Regions from separate parts of the Homo sapiens genome. Here region 1 is linked to region 2. Evidence: promoter capture Hi-C in human tissues and cell types (Jung and others, 2019). All regions are on one chromosome and are shown on one strand. Each heading gives the region's core, a stretch centred on a gene start or on the middle of the fragment in contact. The rest is flanking DNA. Distances are from core to core; before and after follow the strand shown.

Evidence for each region. The method cuts DNA at HindIII sites, captures the fragments that hold promoters and counts their contacts. A contact is called where the count stands out against the background at its distance.
Region 1: a contact is called between the fragment with the promoter of KRT81 here and a fragment that was not itself captured in region 2, in 2 of the 25 tissues and cell types used here (neural progenitor cells and small bowel).

Annotation. Positions count from the first base shown.
Region 1 is chr12:52,289,394-52,292,802 of GRCh38, forward strand. KRT81 (keratin 81) reads right to left here and starts at 2,141. Exons shown (of 9, transcript NM_002281.4): 1 at 1,704-2,141; 2 at 685-893. The coding sequence starts at 2,072. The region is part of intron 2 of KRT86 (keratin 86); the gene reads left to right. The HindIII fragment of the contact is 10,526 bases long and covers 1-3,409 here.
Region 2 is chr12:52,240,711-52,244,077 of GRCh38, forward strand. It overlaps KRT7 (keratin 7), which reads left to right. Exons shown (of 9, transcript NM_005556.4): 5 at 762-926; 6 at 2,302-2,427. Among named protein-coding and RNA genes, the nearest start is that of KRT7-AS, 5.1 kb to the right of the region's middle. RefSeq lists an enhancer at 2,131-3,106. The HindIII fragment of the contact is 8,834 bases long and covers 1-3,367 here.

The sequences.
Region 1 (3,409 bases), core at 891-3,390, 49 kb after region 2:
CCCCGGCCTGGCAGCCTAGCTTAGTGCTTTCTAGTTGGATGTGGGATGTGTCTGGGATTCTCTATCCACTTTGAACTGGGGATGGAGAGTGCTCATCTGGGACCTCCCAGTCCTGTTCCCAAAGGGGCTCTGAGGTCCCCCAGGAGGCAAATAGGACTCAGCCCCCAGCCCCATCCTGGGAGTGGACAGCGTGGACTCTCAGGGCCTGTAGCCCTAGCCTCCCCTCACTGGTATCAATCCCAGCTCAGGTATGGGGCCTCCTGGACCCGCAGACCCTCAGGACTTAGAACCTAAGGCAGTGGGACACCCAGAGCCCAAGACCTGTCACTCATGAGAGACCCTGGGCTCACATCTGACAGGTGCTACAAGTATAGGGGCTGAGGGTCAGGAGAGAAGGCCTGGACCCTGCAGAGGCTTCCTCCCCACCCAGCGCAGGGGAGAGCTGCTGGGTGATGTGGTTCAGGGAGAGAAGGCTGAAGTGGGACAGAGACAGGTCATGGGAGTCACAGCCCTCCTCTTACACAGGTGTCTGGGCAAAGATTCCACAAAGGAAAAGACCCCGCCACCCTCGGTCAATCTAGTGGTCATGGCCACTCACCCTACCTGGGAGTTCTTATTGTCTAATCCAGTGTATTTAACCTAAACCCCATTCCTGTGCCCAGCATCCCTCTTGCCCGCACTCACTTCTTCTTGTAGCCCTCCAGCACCTCCTGCACGTGGTTAAGCTCTGAGGCCAGCCTCCCGCTGTCGGCCTCCACGCACTCGGCCTCCCGCCGCAGAGTCTCGATGTAGCCCTCAAACAGGGGCTCCAGGTTGCTCTGGCAACACTCGCGGTTCTGGTAGAACTGCAGCTTTGTCTCCAGCAGTTTGTTCTGCTGCTCCAGGAAGCGCACCTGCCATTCGGTGTGGGAAGGTGGGGCAGATGGTGTCTGGTGCCCCAAAGCCAGCTCTGGGGGCTCGCAGGGGAGGTGCTTTAATGGGAACCCCCAAATCTGGAGCTTATCTGAGATTGAGTAGAGGTGGGCAGTGGGAGACAGACAATTTCTGGATTTCCTGGTCATGATCTGTGTCTAGATTTCCCACTCAGGAGTGGAGCAAGGGCTGGGTGGTGTCAGTGCCTGCTCCCTGGGGAGTTGAGTGACCCCCCCCCCCCAACCCAAGCAGATGAACAGAAGTGGAGGCTCAGTCCCTCACTATGAAACTAGGTGATCAGCAACCCACACAGGCAGAGTACTCAGGTTCAGATCACAGATGAGGTTTCTGGGGATGGTGCCAGGAAGAGGGTGTCACAGGCCATCTGGAAGGGAGCTCAGCTGTCCCAGCCCTTCCCCTGTGTCATCTGGAAGTCAGTGCACCCTACTCTCTCACCCTGGGGCTGCCCAAACCCCTCTGAGTTCAGCAGCAGTGGTCACATGCCCCCCTCCCCCAACTCCCTGATGTCTAGCTTGTGCCCCAGAGCAGCCTGGCCACACTTTTCCTTCACAAGCTCCCTCTATCTGAACTGTCAGCTGAGTCTGCATCTTGAGTGCCTGTGTGTGTGTGTCTGTGCATGTGTCTGTCTGTCTGTGTGTCTGTGTGCCTCGCCCATCAGACTGGGATCTCAGGCAGGCAGAGGTCTTTGTGCCTCTGACTCCATCCTTAGTGCCCGGCCCTGGCTGTGTAGGTGGTGGGGGTTCAGGAAGGGTGTGATCCAGGACACCCACCTTGTCGATGAAGGCCGCGAACCTGCTGTTGAGGGACTTGATCTGCTCCTTCTCCTCCTGCTTCACGCACTGCGCGTTGGGGTCGATCTCCAGGTTGAGGGGCGTGAGGAGGCTCTCGTTGACCGACACGGTGGTGATGCATGGGGGACTGGGCCCGCACACGCCCCCGGAGCGGTAGCCGAAGCTGCGTCCGCAGGAGCCGGCCCGAAAGCCTCCGCACACGCTGTGGCTGCCGAAGCCCCCGGTGAGGCCGCGGTAGCAGGAGATGCCACGGTAGGGGGCGGCGGTGATGCAGCAGCGGCCGGGCCGCGGCCCGCAGGCCGAGATGCAGCTGAAGGCGCGCCCACCAAATCCTGATCCGCAGGTCATGATCCTCCTGGACGTTTGGGTTGCAGAGGACAGGATAGGGGACCTGGAGTCCTGATGGAAACTCCAATGTGCTCCTCAGGGCACCGCAGCCCTATTTATGCGCAGATTCTGAAGGGGCTTGGCTGTGAAGATGATGTTGGGGCAATTTGCGCTTTATGGGCTTGGGTGGTTAGCCGGGTCTAACGCCTCTCCAGAATGTGCTTTAATGGGGGAGTGGCCTGCACCCTCTTCTTTGTAAAAGATGTCAGTCTTGGGCTCTGGGGGAGTCAGCATGTTTCATCTTCAAAGTGTCTTGCCAGCAGGGCATTCCTTCATCTGCAGGCATTGGGGAGGGAAGGGGAAGGCAGAGGAGAGGACGAGAAGGAGGAGTAGAGCCTGGCGAGGGGAAGAGAAGGGAGGCCAGGTGCTGGGAGAAACTGGGAGGAGGAGACCTGTGTGTTAAGTGTGATGTGGGGAGAGGGGTTTCAGGAAAGGCTGAGGCATTAATAAATACCATCTCTCATTTCCATCACAGCTGTGGCTAAAGTGCTCCTGAAACACAAATCTGGATTTCCCCATCTCCAGATTTTTCAGTTGGCAGCTGAAAACCATCTCACTTTTCCTACCATGGGAACAGTCAGCAGATTATTAAATATTTGTCTTTTATCTTTTTTATGATGAAAGCTTTCAAATATTGAGGAAAATTGGAATAATACAACACACATGCATTGATGCTCCACCTGTTTACCCCGATTCAACAGTTAACATTATACCATATTTGCTTTCACAGTTGCCCAATTATTTGAGTGGCAGAAAGCATGGCATGTCACCCTTAAATACATCAGCAGGAATTTCTTAAGAATAAGGAGAGTACTATTTTCTTATTCAGGAAAATTAACAATAATTCCAAAGCACCACTTACTATTCATCTCAGATTCAATTTTCCTAACTGTCCTAAGGATTTTAAAACTACATTTTACATAATTTAATTTGTGGCTCTAGCCCTTGTATTTTCTATAAATTAGAAAGTAAATCTTGAGCTGGGATGTCCAATTTGGTAGACAATAGGCAGATGTGGCTACTTAAATTTAAGTTAGTAAAAACTAAATAAGTTAAAAATCTAGTTATTCAGTTGCACTATCCACATTTTGAGTCCTCAGCAGCTACCTGTAAGTAGTGCCTACCTTATTAGACAGTGCATATAAAGAACACTTCTTTATTATTTATTTTTATTTTATTTATTGTTTATTTTCACATAAAATTCTGTTGGACAGCACTGGGCTAGAGGCTGGATTAGGTTTAAATTAAACATTGTTGGGACAGAATACTTCATAAAATATGCTGTGTAACTCTTATTA
Region 2 (3,367 bases), core at 796-3,295:
TGCTTACATATACATAAAGATATAGAAATATACATTTTCAATAAAAATAGCATCATGCTTTATTTTAATTTTTATTATTATACTTTAAGTTCTAGGGTACATGTGCACAACGTGCAGGTTTGATACATAGGCATACATGTGCCATGTTGGTGTGCTGCACCCATCAACTTGTCATTTACATTAGGTATTTCTCCTAATGCTATCACTCCCCCCTCCCCCCACGCCCCCGACAGGCCCCGGTGTGTGATGTTCCCCGCCCTGTGCCCAAGTGATGTCATTGTTCAATTCCCACCTATGAGTGAGAACGCATCATGCTTTTTTTAATGCAACAGTATACCATGGGCATATTCCCCACAGGTAGTTGGAGCCATATCATCGGTGTACAGACTGCAGAGTATTCTGTAGCATGGTGGAATATGATAATTTCATCCATTCCCCATGGCCTCCCTCACAATAGAGCTCGTGCACCTACAGAACCTCACAGTGAGAAGTCACCACAGCGCACCACACTGTCCCTTTCCTTATCCCCTTTAACCCTGCCAGATTCTCGTTTGAGACACTGCTAATGGGCCCTCAGGGAGCCAAGGGTGGGCAGAATGAAGTAACTTAATGTGTGCTGGGTCTGGGCCCCCTTGCTGCCTGGTGACTCAGCCCACTCCCAGCTGTTCTCTCTTTTCTTTCCTTTGTGAGTGGGGAATCCCAGGGTGGGCGTGGGCATAGGATCCTGCCCTAAGTCCTGATGTCCCGTCTGGTCCCTACAGGAGTTGACAGAGCTGCAGTCCCAGATCTCCGACACATCTGTGGTGCTGTCCATGGACAACAGTCGCTCCCTGGACCTGGACGGCATCATCGCTGAGGTCAAGGCGCAGTATGAGGAGATGGCCAAATGCAGCCGGGCTGAGGCTGAAGCCTGGTACCAGACCAAGGTGTGAGGCCACCAGGGGCGTATTTCCTCCTGCCAGGGTCCTTGGTGGCAGCTTCCCTTACTCCTCAACTTGTCTCAAGCCTTCAGGGCCTGGGTCCCACTGTTCTGGCAGGCACCAGTGGTTTAAGTCTGTGGTGCTCAGCCCTGGAGAAAATCCCAAGATGGGAGGACAGGGCAGAGGAAATAGATATGGATTAATCATTATAATAGCTAAAATATGGCAAGTACTTACACAGTACTAGGCTCATGTAATTATTGACTCATGTAATCCACAGAACAGCCCTATTAGATAGGCATCATTATTACCCCCATTTTGTTTTATTTAATTTAATTTATTTTATTTCTATTTTTTGAGATGGAGTCTTGCTCTGTCACCCAGGCTGAAGTGCAGTGGTGCGATCTTGGCTCACTGCAACCTTTGCCTCCCTGGTTCATGTGATCCTCGTGCCTCAGCCTCCTGAGTAGCTGGGACTACAGGTGTGCACCACCATGCCTGGCTAATTTTTTTTGTATTTTGAGTAGAGACGAGGTTTCACCATGCTGGCCAGGCTGGTCTCAAACTCCTGACCTCAGGTGATCCACCTGCCTCGGCCTCCCAAAGTGCTGGGATTATAGGCGTGAGACACCGCACCCAGCCTATTACCCCCATTTAAAGATGAGGAAATTGAGGCACAGAGAGGTTAAGTAATTTGCCTAACTGCATACAGCTAGTAGATGGAAGAGCAGGGACTAAATCCTGAATGTGAGGGCCCTAGACCTGGGAGGCTTAATCATCACATCTACTTCATGGTGGCAGGACAGTTGATGGTGCAGGGGCTGAGGGAGCAGGAGTGGGTGCTGGGGTGAACCAGTGTTCCTGAAGAAGGGATCCCGAGGCAAGGATTGAGAGGTCTGCCCCTGCAGAGATAGAGAGTCATTCATGGTGCCTGGGTGAGAACACAAGTATGCCAACAAGAAGACCTGGGTTCAGGCCCTCGTTCCATCACTGATTGGCTGTGTGATCCCTGGGTGGTGCTTTCTCTTCTCCAAGACTCACTCTCCTCACCTGTGAAATGGGTGTTCTGGGTGTTGAATGGGTGCGAATCTCAAACTCTCAGTGATTCTCCAGCAGAAGGGCATGGTGGGAGTGGAAGAGCCCTGGGGTCCATGGGGATGGGACTGCGGAGCCTTGTCTGTCCTCCCTGCCTGGCTTGGAGGAGAATGAATCCCTTCCTCACACTGCTGTCTGGTCTCCTGGCATCGGGCAAAGGTTGATGGGAGTCAGACTGTCCTTCCCTGAAAATATAAGTTGGGAGGGGCCTTGGGTGGGGAGAGGGATGAGTTACCTGTACTCACTGCCCATCTCTCTGCCATAACTCTCTGTATGGCCCCTCCAGTTTGAGACCCTCCAGGCCCAGGCTGGGAAGCATGGGGACGACCTCCGGAATACCCGGAATGAGATTTCAGAGATGAACCGGGCCATCCAGAGGCTGCAGGCTGAGATCGACAACATCAAGAACCAGGTGGGACAAGTCCTCCTGGCTTCCCCTGCTACTTGGGGCATGCAGGGGTGGCCAGCTGAGGCCAAACTCAGGATGTGGAGCAGGAGGTTCCCATCTCCCGGCCAAAGCTGGTGCCACTGTCTCAGACCCCCTTGTGAGATCTCCAGCACAGAATGTTCTTGGCCAGGTCCTGGCATGGGCTGATGGGAGAAAGGTCCTGGATGTGCACAGAGCCTGTGGAGGGAGACTCAGGCTGGCTGGCCAGAAGAAAGCCACCACTGGTTCCACATTGATACTGAGCACTCTGCTTGCACCTGGTTCTGGCTGCAGGGCGCTGTCCCTGGGAGCTCATCATTCATTGCAGGGACAGAGGACAGCAGAAGACCTTATAATGACTCACATGGCCCTTTCCCACCCACTCCAACCTCACTTTCCACGATTCCCCTCACTCTGCTCTGGCCATGCTAACCTGCTTCCTGCATCTTGCATTTGCCAAGAATGGTCATGCTTCAGGGCCTTTGCACTTGGCGTTGCCTCCCCCTGGAATGTGGTTCTCCCAGCTCTGTCCATGGTTGTTGTTTTCTCCTCCCTGGGGTTTAGGAAAAGACCCCTTCTCAGAGACGGCACTCTCAAACACCAGCCCCTCTATCGGCAGCCTGTCTGAAGTTCTTTGAAGCCCCTGTCACTCTCTGAAATGTTCTGTCTTATTCATTAAGTGATTGATGGTCCCTACCTCCACTGGAATATAACAGATGCCTGGAGAGCAGGGACCCTGTCTGTCTGGTTCACTGCTCCTCTCTTCCAGCACCTGGCACATGGCAGGGGCACGGGTCTCAGATGAGAGACTGCCTGGGAGGATGAGCTTTGCTGGAAGCTGGGGTTGGAGGTGTTGATGGGGGAAGGGCCCCCAGCCCTGGCTGAGTAGTGTGTGGCCAGGGCAGCTCAGCCTGTGCAGGTGTCT